Regions from separate parts of the Homo sapiens genome. Here region 2 is linked to region 1. The links are contacts of gene promoters, found by promoter capture Hi-C in blood cells and fetal thymus (Javierre and others, 2016). All regions are on one chromosome and are shown on one strand. Each heading gives the region's core, a stretch centred on a gene start or on the middle of the fragment in contact. The rest is flanking DNA. Distances are from core to core; before and after follow the strand shown.

Region 1 (7,828 bases), core at 1,697-4,196:
TATCTAGATGTTTGTGTTCAGAATAGATTTGAAAGCCAGGCGCAGTGGCTCACACCTGAAATCCCAGCACTTTTGGGAGGCTGAGGTGGGCGGATCACTTGAGGCCAGGAGTTCCAGACCAGTCTGGCCAACATAATGAAACCGCATCTCCATACTAAAAATAAAAAAAAAATAGCTGGCTGTGGTGGTGCGTGTCTGTAATCCCAGTTAGGTGGGAGGCTGAGGTGGATGGATCCCTTGAGCCCAGGGAGTTGAGGCTGTGGTGAATGGAGATCACACCACTGTGCTCCAGCCTGGGTGACAAAATTAGACTCTGTCAGGTCAGGAGATCAAGACCATCCTGGCTAACATGGTGAAACCCCATCTCTACTACAAATACAAAAAATTAGCTGGGCGTGGTGGCACGGGCCTGTAGTCCCAGCTACTTGGGAGGCTGAGGCAGGAGAATCGCCTGAACCTGGGAGGCGGAAGTTGCAGTCCCAGCTACTTGGGAGGCTGAGGCAGGAGAATCGCCTGAACCTGGGAGGCAGAGGAGCTGATATCGTGCCTCAAAAAAAGAAAGATTTGAAGGGGAAGAGATTAGAGGTAAAGAAATTAGGTTAGGAGACAATAGGTATAAAGTGAAGGGGGGCTGGAATATATCATTTACTTATTTTGCAACATTTACTAAGGTCTTACCACAAGTCAGGCACTGTATTAGGCACTTGCAATATAATGGTTAAAAAAAAAGATGAGGCCGGGCGTGGTGGCTCATGCCTGTAATCCCAACACTTTGGGAGGCTGAGGTGGACAGAGCACGAGGTCAAGGGATCGAGACCATCCTGGCCAACATGGTAAAACCCCGTCTCTGCTAAAAGTACAAAAATTAGCTGGGTATGGTGGGGCATGCCTGTAGTCTCAGCTATTCGGGAGGCTGAAGCAGGAGAATTGCTTGAACCCTGGCAATAGAGCGAGACTTCATCTAAAAAAAAAAAAAGATGAATGAATCCCCTCCTGGAATATATAGTGTAGTGAGTAGCAACATGCAGGAGATAGAAAGGAAAATAAATCCTTGTCTCTCATTTCCATCTCTTCATGGATGTAGCAAATACAGGGAATGGAAGCCTTCCATTAGAGATGGCCTCCTTAAATGTCTGCAAAAATTCTGAAATTTGAAGTTCTAGTGGAATAGTTTCTCTGTTCCTCCTGACAGATTTTTCTACTATTGTAGCTTTCTCCGTTGAGTAAATGATTTTATCCTCTTTGATTCTTTTGACTATTGTTCTTAAGAAAAATAAAAAGTAACGAAATACTAAGTGAAAAGGAATGGTTCATAGGCTATCTCTCTGAAAGGCAGCCATTGTTTTGTTCTTCTATATTGGAAGCCTTTTCAGCTGGTTATCCTCTCTAACCTGAAAACAACTGTCATTCGAAAGTGTTATTTCCAGTGGCCTCAGGGCATACTATCCTTTCTCTTTTATTTTATTTTTTGAGACAGAGTCTCTCCCTGTCGCCCAGGTTGGAGTGCAGTGGCTCAAGCGATTCAAGCGATTCTCTTACCTCAGCTCTCGAGTAGCTGGGATTACAGGCGCCCGCCACCACGCCCAGCTAATTTTTGCATTTTTAGTAGAGACCAGGTTTCACTATGTTGGCCAGGCTGGTCTTGAACTCCTGACCACAGGTGATCCACCCGCCTCAGCCTCCCAAAGTGCTGGGATTACATGTGCGAGCCACCGCGCCCGGCCTCCTTTGTCTCTTAAAGGCATTATCCAAAATACTCATCTTCCGGTTTGAAGAGCAGCAGGGATTAAATGTGTATTATGTATGCAGCAATTTGCCACTCCCTTTGCCCTGCCCCAGTTACTGCAATAGAAAATTTCTGGGAATAAATACATCTCTGGTAAATTCAATCTTGCTAGTGAAGATTATGAAGGAAACAAAGAAAGGACACTTCCATTCCAGAAAGGTGTTTGTTTCCCAAAAGGTTAGACATTGATTCAGAACAAAGGGAACCTGAGGAAACGGGTATAAAAGAAAATCAACTCTGAATGTGAGGTATTAGAAAGCCATTTGTTTCCTAGGGAAAAGGAGGAAAGATGGGGTGGGAGACATGGGCTTTACTGTATAACCTTGGTCATGTCACCTAAACTTCTTGGAACTCCTGAGTGTAAGAGTTGGGACCAAGGATCGCAAAGCTTCTTTCATTCCTAAAATTCTATGGTTCCACGATTATGTAAGCTGAAACAGGCCATTCTGTTGATTTCCTAATCTCCAGGAGGAAAGAAACTAGTCTTTGGGAGTTAAACCGACTAATTTAACGGAGAATTACCAATGTGGAGGTGGGCGAACTTCACAATTATGGGGTTTTGGACAGTAGAGATGCTCTTAAAATTTCCAAGAGGACCCTTCCCCCGTCCTTGAACCTGGCTTTACAATTCTCTTCACTCTTTGGGATAGGGGAGCGGGTAGAACCTAGTTTAGATTGAGGTCGTTCATTTGAGCATTTCCCCTTTACTTATTTTGGGACCTTTAACGACCAAATGCCGAGAAACAGATCCTTAATTACGGTTCCGGGATCTCGAAAGGCCTGTAAAATCCTGCTTCCGCATCTTCATCCTTTCTTCGGGTATTGGGATCTTTTTTAAAAATGTGTATTTCTGGCGGAGGGGGCATGGAGTGAGGTTCAGAACAGCAGAGCCGGGCTGACGGATGCTTCTTTCGCGGGAGGCTTGGCTTGCGGGACTCCGGGTTGGGGCCGCACGGGCTGGCAGGCGGGCTCCGGGCAACAAGGGCGCGGCTGCGGACTGGCGGGCGGACCCCGGGGAGGGGCTTCACGGAGGCGCCGCGGCCGGAGCGGAGCGGAGCCGCCCGGGCTGGGCGCGCAGCGCTGCCGGGCGGGCGGTGGCGCTGCGGAGGCGGTGGCCGAGGCCGACGAGCGCGGAGGAGGGGCCCGAGGCTGGGGCGGCTGGTGGCAGCTGCCTCAGTGACGACTGCCGGCATCGCGGCGACCTGAGGAGATCAAGCCGCAGGCCCCGCCGTCGCCACCACTCCCGCCAGTCTTCCTTCTCCGCTCCCGGCCGGGGCGTCAGGAATGGGCCCCAATCGCCGTGGGCCCCGCACCCTGCGTCGCCCGTAGGCCCCAGTAGCCGGAGGCCGACCGGCCTCCCACTACCCCTCGCCCTAGCCAAGCCGTCCCCACCCCAAATCCCCGGGAAGGAAGATGAGGGAGACGGGCCCGGCGCTTAGCAGCCAGAGCAGCAGCAGCAGCAGCAGCGGTCGGGGGAGGGTGTTTCGCCGTTTCCTCTCAGCCGCCAGGACAAGATGGCAGCGGCCGCGGAGAGGGGCTGAGCCCGGGCTGGGTGGTGCCGCCTGCTGAAGCGCCTGGCTCCCGGTCCCCGGCACGGCCCTGCGCCCCACCCCGGACATGCTCAGGGCTGCGGCCGCCCGAAGAGGAGAGAGCGCGGGCCTCTAGGAAGGTAAGGGAGTCGAGCGAGGGGCGCCGCCACCCCGGGGTGGGGGGATCGGCTCCGTCTGCGGGCTCCGCGGCCAGCGGACCCCAAGCCTGACCCGGGCCTGGCCCGACACCTCCGGCGCAGCCCGCACTCATTGCGCGTCCCGTGCCCCATCCGCATCCCCAGCGCTCTCGTGCTCCCAGTTTCCGCCCTAGCCCCTGCAGTGTGGCCCGGTATGAGCCGCTCCCTCGAAGCCGGCGCCACGCCAGGCCCTGGGCCGCCGGACGCGGGGGCCGTAGCCTCCGGGAAGCCGCGCCTGGCCGGGGCCCGGGGGCCTCGGCCCCCCCTCCCCCTGCCAAGGTTGCGCAACGGCTCTTCCCAGCAACCGAAGTTTTGTTTAGTCCCACGGGGAGCCTCTCTTCCCCCTCCGCAGTCCTAGGCCGTAACTACGGAGATCCCTTTCCTTTCATTAAGGGGAACAAACAAACGCGCAGGCACGCAGCTTGAGCACCCCAGCCGATGGCCGCGTCCCGGGCTTTGTGGCCCCGTCCCCAGCGTCGCGGAGCAGCGGGTTTGCAGGGTGTCAACTCTGGGGACGTGCGTGCGTGTGTGTGATTGTTGGGGAGGAGAAATGTGATCCGCGGCTCCGCGTCCCCAGCGGCGGCGGGAGGAAGGCGTGGCGGCCGCGCGGCGGGGCTGTTGCCGGCTTCTCTCGTTACGGTGGCTGCCGCCCGCTTCCCTTCGCCGCACTGGGAGAACTGGCGGAAAGACTTTGGATGAAAATGTCTGTTTCTCTGTCGGGAGGGAGACGGCTGTTGTAAAATGGTATGTGGCTCTCGGGGAATCCTGTTGTTCCCGTCTCATCTCTGCTTGAGGAATTGCGCTGAAGAGTGTGTGCGTAAATTACCTTGGACTTGTTACAGAGTAGTCGTAACACGTTCAGGCCTTGAACCGTGTTTTCACAACCTCTTACTGCCCTGTTAGGGAATTTGTTTTTCCACCTGTCAGTTGGCTGCTTCTAATTATAATAAGGGGCTTCTATTAGCAACAGCAAAAAATTTCAGTTTATCGTCCAGTTTAGAGGGAAAGCGCATGGTTGGCTCTATTGTAAACTTTGTTTTGATGTCTGTCTGGTACAGGGCCGGAAAAGTTAGCTGGCAAACCAGTCTGCGTGTGCTTTTGCGTACTTTCTAGTAGTTTGGAGATCTGCTGACACTTTTTCCCTTTTTGCTATTTTAGGTATTTGCTTTTAGCTGTAGCTTCTGAAGTGGGAGTACTTATATTCATTCAAACCATCTCAGTTAATTTCAAAGTTTTAGTTGCTGGGCTCTTTAAAATTTTTAAAGAGGTTTCCTTTCTGATCAAATTTTTGATGAAAAGTCTTGAGCCGTAACGGTGGTTACTGCTTACCCAACTAAGACATTTTAATCCTATATTATTTAATTTTTCAGAAGCTGGTGAAGTCTCACCATATGTTTGATAAGTCTAGATTCTGCTTATGTTTGCAAGTGCAGTGCTAATTTTATACAATGAGCAATGATAAGGTTTAGATAGGTCATGATTAAACTTAGTATTTTAAGTAAACAAAATATGACTGACCTTTTGTAAAAAAAGTTTTCATAGTTTTATTGATTATCTTATGCTTTCGTGCCACTTATCAGTAATTGCAATTTTACCAGCCAGATACAGTTATTTAGTTTTAAGTCAATGAAATATTTCTTGGTGTATTTATGGCTGCATTCATAAAGTGTAGAGGACTTTTATTTCTGAACTATAATGCTTAACCTGTTTGAGATTTTTCTTTTTTGAAATTTACTTATTTAAAATTTATGTTAAGGCAGAGATGTGTTGAAATATTTGTGATGTTTGGGCATGTCTTTTTTTTTTTGTACTTATGGAAAAATTTGTTCCTTAATCCCCCCCTCTGCCTCCCGCCCCCCGCCCCAAGGGGATCTCTTTTCTAAGAAAAAAGTATTTGTGGAGAACCTTAGATTAAAACTGTTGTAAAAAAGTAAGATGAGTTTGAAATCTAGAACAGAACTGGCCATTAAATGTTTCAACTTTATATTTGGGCATTGCTGACTACAGTAGCTAAACATACATATTAGGCAAGCAGATCATAACATGATAAGTCAGCCTTACTTAGTTTATTGTCAAAATATATTTTCCATTGAACTAGTCATTACCTTGCTTATAAACTGGTCATTGGCTTTTGGGCATGGGATTTTAGAGTCACATTAAAATGGATGGTTTATATGAGATACTTCTTCTTGTAAACATGTTTGAAAAGAAGCTGTAGATCATACTCTTAACTTTTTGGATACCATAAAATAGGGTGTAAATTACAGACGTAGGTTGCTGTTGCAAGTATGGCGTGGGCACATAGGTTTTTATGTTTAATGCAAGATATGGAGAGCCTCCCTGCACCCCCTGCAACTTAAAAAAGCAGCAGCTATCAAATTAATTTTTTGATTGAACTTTTGTTTTTAATATTTGATGCATGAACCTGAAAGCATATGGAAAGGAGGAAAGGGAAAATGTAAATTTCAGAATGCCGCAATATTATTTTTCAGACCTGATTCACATCCATTTCATGGAATGCTTGTTTGCATGTTATTTTTTATTTGAATGCTAGTACGACTTATCCTGGTAACTTTTGAAGTTAACTTTATTTTACCAGGTAAGAGAGTTAACTTATTAAATGTTATTTTCATAGCAACAGTTTACCAAGTATGATGATAAGGTAAATTAGAATTGCACTATTGGTGGTTAATTCAAAGGCATAAAAATGTAGTTCCCATTGGAACCTCACATTTAAGTTTGGAGATGAAAAGATGTCATGGTAATATTTAGATTCAAAGATATTCTAAGGAAATTCTCCATATTTAAATATCCTTCCAGAAGTTGTTATTCCTGACTCTTAACTCTTAGAGGACACAGAATAACTTGATTTATTGTTGCCAAAATAAATATTCGTGTTGTAGCTGTCCTGGTTTTCTGATGTCCAAAGTTGAGACTCCCAATGTAGTATGTTTAACTTGGAAGTTACTTCTGAAGACAAACTACTAAAACTTTGTTAAAATGGATGACTCTATCAGTGTGTTTATTTTTTAAAAGGTATTATTCCCCCCCAACACTTTTCACTGGGATGTAGTATTTCTCTTTTTTAACTTGCTGAAAGCTTTGTCATGGAGAATCTTTTGTGATACCGGTGTAAGTCTAAAGGGATTATATGTATATATATATACATAAAATATATATTATATATAAAATATAAAATATATTATATAAATATATATAATACATTATATAAAATATATATTATATATAAATATATATGTATTTTTTTTTCTTTTTAAACTTTTAGGTTCAGGGGAGCATGTGCAGGTTTGTTATATAGGTAAACTTGTGTCATGTGTGTTTGATGTACGGATTATTTTGTCACTCAGGGACTAAGCCTAGTGCCCAATAGTTATTTTTTCTGCTCTTCTCCCTCCTCTCATCCTCCACCATCTGGTAGGTCCCAGTGTCTGTTGTTCCCCTCTTTGTGTCCATGTGTTCTCATCATTTAGCTTCCACTTATAAGTGAGAATGTGTGGTATTTGGTTTTCTGTTCCTGCATTATTTATTAAGGATGATGGCCTCCAGCCCCATCCATGTTCCTGCAAAGGACATGACATCATTCTTTTTTTATGGCTGCATAGTATTCCATGGTACATATGTAGCATATTTTTAAAAAATCGAGTCTTCCCATTGATGAACATTTAGGTTGATTCCATGTCTTTGCCCTTGTGAATAGTGTTACAGTGAACATATACATGCATGTGTCTTTATGATAAAACAATGTATATTTCTTTGGATATATACCCAGTAATGGGATTGCTGGGTCCAATGGTAGTTCTGTTTTTAGCTCTTTGAGGAGTCACCACACTGCTTTCCACAGTGGCTGAACTAATTTACATTCCCACCAACAGTGTATCAGCCTCCCCTTTTCTCTGCAACCTCATCAGCATCTGTTATTTTTTGACTTTTAATAATAGCCACTCTGACTGGTGTGAGATGGTATCTCATGGTTTTGATTTGCATTTCTGTAATGATCAGTGATAACCTTTTTTTCATGTGCTTGTTGGCCACACGTATGTCTTTTGAAGAGTGTCTGTTCATGTGTAAAGGAATTATTTTAAATGTCCTAACTGGTTCTGGATCCAGCTGCTTAAAAATATATATCTTGCCTAATACTTAAGCACCTTATATTAAGAATATATATTTGGAGAAGTACTGAGTCAGTGGAGGCTTTTAGGATAGTCAGTACTTATGTGGCCTACTTAAGGAAGAATGTCACTTCTTTTGGTTGGCTTGGTATGTAGTTAAGAGTGGTTTGGAGGAAGAACAACTTA
Region 2 (7,828 bases), core at 3,193-5,692, 1.2 Mb after region 1:
GATTAAAAGAAGTGGTCAAGAAAGGTCTTCCTGAGAAGACAACATGGTAAACTACAGGCCCCCAAGCTGAGCCACGTGGCTTCTGGCTTCTTTTGAGGATGCAGAGTTTAAAAGGGCATTAAGAGAAAGATGATACAAATCCTAATATTGTATCATCTATAATTTGCCCATCGAGTAAGTTGTTTCACACCTCAGGGGCCAGCCAGACAAGAGAAAGGCAACGGTGATTGTTATTCATTGACATTTAGAATATTGGGTGGGATGGGATTGGGAAAAATCCCAGTACAAAGTTTCAGAGAATTAAGCTAGTGCTTGCTAAGTAGTTCGTTTATGTTGCTTACAGAGCTAGCCACTGCTTTCCCCAGCTCTGGCTCAAGGATGGGGAAATCCTCTGACAATGTCATGTGCAAGAAGGATGTTCATCTTGCCTCCAAATCCAGTATCAAAAAAGTATGAATGGGCCGGGTGTGGTGGCTCATGCCTGTAATCCCAGCAGTTTGGGAGGCTGAGGCCGGCGGATCACTTGAGGCCAGGAGTTCGAGACCAGCCTGGCCAACATGACGAAACCTCCTCTCTTATAAAAATACAAAAATTAGCCGTGTGTCTGTGGTCCCAGCTACTGAGGAGGCTAGACAGGAGAATCACTTGAACCCGAGAACGGAGGTTGCAGTGAGCGGAGATGGCGCCACTGCACTCCAGCTTGGGCGAGAGAGTGAGACTTTTATCTCAAAAAAAAAAAAAGTATGAATGGCAGAACAGAAAATATATGATAAGAAGAAACAAGAAGAATGAAGGCAGCAGTATCTTAAAGAACAATAATCATATGAAAATAGATTGCTTATGGGAGATGAATGTGTAAAGAATGGCCTTAATTTCATTTGTGAGGCCCCACCAGGAGCTAAAAAAGGAAACAGAGAAAAAAGAAAACAGGAGAGAATGAAGACAAATTTAAATGGCAGAAAGAAGCTCCATGAGAAAAATATGCCAAAGATCACATAAACAAAAAAAATTAGCCCTTTGATATTCAGGTTAGAAATATGAACTGCATTAAATGTCACAAATGGGATCATGTCACTGCAGATTGAGACTGTCCTTTGTTTGGTCTTTCTGGAATCAATGCAAGTTCAGTTCCCACTGATGAGGCAGGTAGGCACTAGACATGATTTATTTGTTTCAGAATTTATATAGAGGACAAACAAGGAAATAAAATAACGTTTCTCTTTATTTTCTCAGTTAAAAAAAAAGAAGTAAATAGATCTTCATTTTCAGGTTGCCTGGAGCAATTGCTTTCCACATCTGACACAAGAAGGAGAATTTTGCTTCATGTCACAGTGTCTCAGAACTGAATCTGTTTATGTCCACGTATCCTGGAACAGGAGCTGCATATAAGATGATACAGGGCAACAGGTCCTCTTGCTTGGTGGAAAATGATTCTTTGAATGAACTTGTTTAGCTAAGTCTCTGCCTGCCCTTTGCTGTCAGGAAGGAGAGGCAGCTAGAGATCTTCCTCCTCCTCCTTCATCCTTGCTGCTCTGCAAGCTGCCTCTTCTCCAGCACTCTCATTCCTGCCTTTGGCTGTTCCTCAATCCCATGTGGCTCTCTAGGCCTGTCATGCTCTTATATTACAAATCCATAACAACTTCCCATTTTTTGTCTTTTAAAGACTGAGAAGAATGTCATTTTCTTGTGGTTCTTCTCAACTATGTGGGTACAAAACATGGATTTCACAATTGCTTTACTCAGGGTGCTTCCCGTAACACCGCGTCTTCAGGTGGGCAGAGGGTAGTGCAATGCTGGAGTTAAATTCTAAGAATGTAGAACACTCACTCAAGATCTTCCTTTATTCCTGCCCACTTTGTCACAGGCAGAACAACGTAGGAGTGGAGATGTGATCTCCAGAGCCACACTGTCTCGTTCGAATCCTGGCCCCATTGCAAACTATCTGGGTAACTTCGGGAGGTTACTTAACCTTTCTGTACCTTAGTGCCCTCAGATGTAAAGTGAAGGTAGTAAGAGTCCATTCCCTCTTATAGGATTGTTATAAGGATTAGATGGGTTAATATTGGAAAATCCCTCAGTGTAGAGCCTAGACATAGTAAGAGCAATATTAAGTGTTTGTCAATTAAACAAAATATGTTTTGAAAGGATGGTTTTGTGGGATAGGAAGGTTTGGTTTAGGGCAGTGGTTGGCCTTTGTTCATCATAATGTGACCTTGGAGCCAAACTTCAGTGTCCAGAGGCAGTCTCTGAACTACAGCACATCCCGCAAGGATGAGTATAATAGTATATCCTACAACAAAGTTTGCTGTATTTTCTGAACAGCGTTGCAACTCATACAAGAGCTACATGGCACTCCAGAATAAATAGAAATACTAATAATCAGATAATACAGATAACTAACTCATATGGTTCATATAATCTTCCCTAAACCTCCAACTACCCTTGGAGGTCAGTGTGGCCGGTGCTGCTGATCAGCCACCGATATTCACTTCCCTTTTCTTTTATAATAGAATGCCTGAGTTTTGTCAAGCCCATGGCCACCCAGCCAGTGACTACATTTCCCGGTTTCCTGTATAGCTAGGCATAGCCATGTGACGAAATTCTGGCCAATGGAATGTGAGTAGAAATAAAGTGTGCTATTTCCAAATTGTGCCCTAAAAAGGAAAGGACATGGGCTCCCTTTGCTCCTTTGTCCCCCTTCCCACTGGCTGGCATGCAGTTATGATCAAGTGAGCAGCTACATTGGACTCAGAGATGGAAGCTATGTATTGAGGATGGCAGAGTTGCCTAACCAGCCCTGTACCATTTAGGTCTGAAATGCTTTATTGTGAGAGAAATAAGCTTTGATCTTGTCTATGCTATTTTGTTGGTTTTTTGGGAGGCTCTTTTTGTTATAGAAGCTTGGGTGATACCTAATATAGAAGGTGTTACTATCTCCATTTTACAAAAGCAACATGGTAGCTTAGAAAAATTAAGTGACTTGCCCAAGTTCACACAGTTTGTAAATGGCCATGGTGGGATTTGACCCCAAGTGCTCTGATGCTAGCGCTGGGGCTGTTAACCATGTACCATGCTATTTTTTCTCTTGAGCCCTACTAGGTAATGATCTGGGTTTATGGTAAAGAAAGGGAGAAGAGAGCTACCTGTTCCGTTCCCCCTAGTTGACCATTCCTAGCTATGACCAATGGTTCCACCCAAACATGTATACTTCATAACTATTCATTTCTCCACAGATGCATAATTGTGTGTGCTCTCAGTCCATAATGAATGTGTTGATTGTCTATGAGGTTTGACTTTTTATTTTTATTGTCAGAGTACAAGAACCCATGTCTGGTTTCTGCAAACAGACTTAAACCCAAGGTCAAGCCCAGGTGCAACATTTAAAGCATAAACAAGGGAGGCAAGCAAAATACCTCTGAGAGAGCAGCACTGGAAAAATAACTTCAATCCAAGCATGTGAATCCCAGTAGTTAAACATGACTGGTTGACCCAGGCCTTGCAGGAGCCCAGAGGCAAGGAGGGAATGTGGGTGAGCCGCAGGAGCTTAAGCTAGTCAAAGTCAAGTTCAGAGGCCAGTGGACCTGCACAAACTTGAAAAAGGCTCAACACCTGTTGTAAATATTTGCTTGCTACTGAGTCCTACTCAAGCCATCTCCATATCACCATGAATGAAGTCAGACTTTTAGGGAAAAGTGGTTAACAATCTGGATTTCTGCGGTAGCAGGGTGGATCATATAATGCTTACTCCTGACACCACGCCTGACACCTATTCAGTTTCTCAGCTTTACTCAAAGCCTCCATGACTTAGCAGGTTCAGGTTAGGCGACCTTCTTAGGTAATCCTAATAACAGCTGGCCTTCCCTTCTCTCAGCACTTTTTCCCCGTGTTATTGTCTGATTATTTGTCTATGTCCACGTCCTTTGCTGTTGTACTCCCAGAGCCCAATAGGCAGGGGGCCCAGGACACAGCAGACATCCAGTATATTGGATGACTCCCATGGGTTAGTGGTTATGGCTGAACATAACATGAGAGGCCTTCTCTCTCAGAAGAATGTGATGAAATATGCAATTGATGAACATCCAGAATCCAGATATTCACCTGTCTTGAAAATTGCACTTCCAATCCACACTCTCAGTGCCTGTGACAGTATAAACTAGCTCGAGCATTGCAGAAAACAATCAACAACATGTCACAAGAACCTTAAAAAGTTCAAATGACTTGAACCAAAAATGACCTCTGAAAACAGGTCCTAAGGAAATAAATACAAATGTAGAGGAAGGATGTCACTGTACTGTTATAGAAGAAAACAATTTAAATGTTCTCAGTAAAGGAGTATGTAAATAAAGGAATAGTCCTTTGATTGCAAATTGTGTAGGCATAGGAGAAAAATATCACATTTTGGAAAAAGATTTAATGACTTGGAAAAAGTTTTATCTGATAATGTTAGGTGGAAAAAGCAGGATATAAGATTATGTATTCTATAGGATCCATTGTAAAACTCTCTCTCACACACACACACACACTCCTTTACAAACATATAAGAGAGAAAATATTGGTAAAAATGTTACCTGTTTATCGTAATCTTTGAATGATTGTTTGATATTTTATCCTGCATTTTCCAAGCCTCCATTAGTAAGTATAAAAAATAAGTTAAGGGCCGGGCGAGGTGGCTCACGTCTGTAATCCCAGCACTTTGGGAGGCCGAGGTGGGTGGATCACGAGGTCAGGAGATCGAGACCATCCTGGCTAACACGGTGAAACCCCGTCTCTACTAAAAACACAAAAAAATTAGCTGGGTGTGGTGGCGGGCGCCTGTAGTCCCAGCTACTCGGGAGGCTGAGGCAGGAGAATGGCATGAACCCAAGAGGCAGAGCTTGCAGTGAGCCGAGATCTTGCCGCTGCACTCCAGCCTGGGTGACAGAGCGAGACTTCGTCTCAAAAAAAAAAGAAAAAAAAGTGAAGGTAAAAACAAATTCCCAATTATTATTTCTATGTTTCTTCTGTTTTTTGTTTTGTTTTGTTTTTGAGACGGAGTCTTGCTCTGTCACCCGGGCTGGAGTGCAGTGGCATGACCCCGGCTCACTGCAACCTCTGCCACCTGGGTTCAAGCGATTCTCCTGCCTCAGCCTCACGTGCAGCTGGGACTACAGGCAAGAGCCACCACGCCCAGCTAATTTTTGTATTTTTAGCAGAGACAGGGTTTTGCCATGTTGACCAGGCTGGTCTTGAACTCCTGACCTCAAGAGATCCACCTGTCTTGGCCTCCCAAAGTGCTGGGATTACAGGCATGAGCCACCAGGCCTGGCCTATGTTTCCTTTTTTTGCAAACACCAGATCAGTAGCGTGGCACGTAAGGCCGAGGCGGGAAAAGGCACATCCATGTTCTTCTCCTTAGCATAGCTCATGCTATGGCCATCACCAGACACCAGAGGACATCTGGGTTGCCTCCTCCCAAGTAGGCAATTATTCATATTAAAGCGGGAAAGATATGGTGCAGCCAAATAGGCAGAGCAGAAGGTATGTGCTGCTACTGCATATAACACCACTGCTACTTTTTAAAGCAAATCCCACCTTCTTCTTTGGCTTGCTCAAGCCTGTTCCACAGTGAACAGGAGTCATGGAGCTGTGGTGATGTTTATTCTCTTCTCTTAAAGCCAACAGCCAATACTGAATTGTAACTCTCTTTGTTTCTTGTTGTGTTCTTTTCTCTTCCTTTTTGCCTAACTCTGAATTTACCTCACAAGGCCACTGTGAAGAGAATGAAACTGAAATATGTAGAACATTCTCGGCCTCTCTGAGGATGGGTGGAATCAGAACAGAGTAATTACCCCTTGTGCTGTCTTGTATGCCTGTCATCCAACAACACATGATGTTCATTCTCTCCATTCTTTTCTTGCAATACTGATGAAATAAAATTTGTCTATAAAGATTCCTAGCTGAGTACTCAAATGTTTTTCTTGAACATTTGTTACATGGTCTACTTTGCAAGCTTGGTTTCAAATTTGTTGATACCAGGATTAATAACAGTATGTCTTGTGCCAGTATATTTTATTTTCATTGAGTTCTGAAAATTGACTTCAGAGAACAGCATTTTTAAAATAACATTTTTATTTATATCAATAAAAATACCCATGAATTCATATGACTAAAATATTAAAACCTAGAACCCAATTTGTTTACCTAACCAATCACTTGCAATTACCTTTAGGTAATTGTATTGGTTTGGTTTCAAGTATTTTTTAACTAGGGCTGATTTTAAGAAGTGTTTTCATTTAAGCTGTAATTATAGTCGATAGAACTTCCACCTAATATGTGACTTTTTTTAATTTTTAATTTTTTTGAGATGAAGCCTCACTCTGTCACCCAGGCTGGAGTGCAGTGGCACAATCTTGGCTCACTGCAACCTCCGCCTCTTGGGTTCAAGTGATTCTCTCGCCTCAGCCACCTGAGTAGCTGAGACTACAGGCGTGTGCCACCACGCCCAGCTAATTTTTGTATTTTTAGCAGAGGTGGGGTTTTACCATGTTGGCCAGACTGGTCTCGAACTTCTGGCCACAAGTGATCCGCCTGCCTCGGCCTCCCAAGGTGCTGGGATTACAGGCGTGAGCCCCCGCACCCAGCCTCCTATGTAACATTATAAATTTATTGTCATTACTTGTAAGCCTGCCCTTTATTTTAAAATACAAGATATGACAAGATCAGAAACCAGTCTTGTTTCTCCATTTCTTTCTCTAGAAATAATTCTTTAGGAATTCAAATCCATAGTAACAAAAACAAAGGAAAAAAAAACATGCTTTTTTTTATATAATGAATAAAGGTTAAGAAATGACTCCAGGTCTCTTATTTATTTTGTTGATATTTGTGTTGGTTAGTTAAGAAGATGATTTGCTCGATTATTTCAACATTTATTTATTCAACAAACTGTGGACTTTGGAGATGAACAGCTGAAGCTAGAATCCTGACTATCCCTTAATAGCTGTGTAACTTTGGGCAAGTTATTTAACCTCCCTATACCTCTGTTTCCTAATCTGTAAAATGAAGATAATATTAGTATCTAACTCATAGGGTTGTTGGGAGGGTTAACTAAGCAAATATACAAAAAGCTGAGAATAGTCCCTGGTATATAGTAAGTGCTCAATAAATTATGGATGGGAGGATCCTGACCCACATGGAGTTTACAGTCTTGGCAGTATGGATCGGGCAGGTAGAAAAAGACACCAAATTACACAGCCAACAGCATCTTTATAATTGTTTTTAATATAGGAAAAGTATAGGGTGCTAAAGATCAATTTGTGGCTTTCTTTTCCAATGAACTGCTAAAGTTCCACTTTTATGCCCAAGATTCTTATCATACTTTTGTAAGATCAAGAACAACATGTGAAGTTTCCACTATTATATATCCACCCATTATATGTAGTTGTACTGGAAAAAATTAAAAGCTGATAACTTTTAATTTGAAGATGATGGTATATACTATGTATATATATTAAGGTGCTTAAAGATAAATCCTAGCACCTGAGGAGGTGTAGAAATCATTCAAACTCTTTGATTACAATGACAAACTAGTCAGTAACTTACTAAATATTGTACTATATATTACTAAGTATTTTACTCTTCAACATAGCTTTTTAAAGACACAAAGCTTTTCAAAATTCCTGCTTACCTGGGGGTAAAATTTGGGGAAGCAGATTTCTCCAGTGTTTAAAGAAGCCAATTTGGCAGTGTACCAGAGTTGAATACATTTTTCCCATCACAAGGGAATACATTTTTCCCATCTAAGTTAAGTTGTTTTTCTCTGGTAAAGGAGGAAATCAACACCCATCTGTAC

Evidence for each region. Contacts are between HindIII fragments. The CHiCAGO score rates a contact against its expected background, and 5 or more counts as called.
Region 2: a fragment that was not itself captured here is called in contact with the fragment with the promoter of HIPK3 in region 1 in 1 of 17 cell types (monocytes); the score reaches 6.3 in monocytes.

What each region holds. Positions count from the first base shown.
Region 1 is chr11:33,254,435-33,262,262 of GRCh38, forward strand. It overlaps HIPK3 (homeodomain interacting protein kinase 3), which reads left to right and starts at 2,947. Exons shown (of 17, transcript NM_005734.5): 1 at 2,947-3,455. RefSeq lists silencers at 2,702-3,031, 3,292-3,631, 3,702-3,901 and enhancers at 4,242-4,291, 4,332-4,421. The HindIII fragment of the contact is 4,438 bases long and covers 2,173-6,610 here.
Region 2 is chr11:34,430,502-34,438,329 of GRCh38, forward strand. LOC105376622 (a long non-coding RNA gene) reads left to right here and starts at 1,788. Exons shown (of 3, transcript XR_931180.3): 1 at 1,788-1,946; 2 at 2,511-2,616; 3 at 5,745-5,821. It also overlaps the pseudogene CIR1P3. The HindIII fragment of the contact is 3,089 bases long and covers 2,899-5,987 here.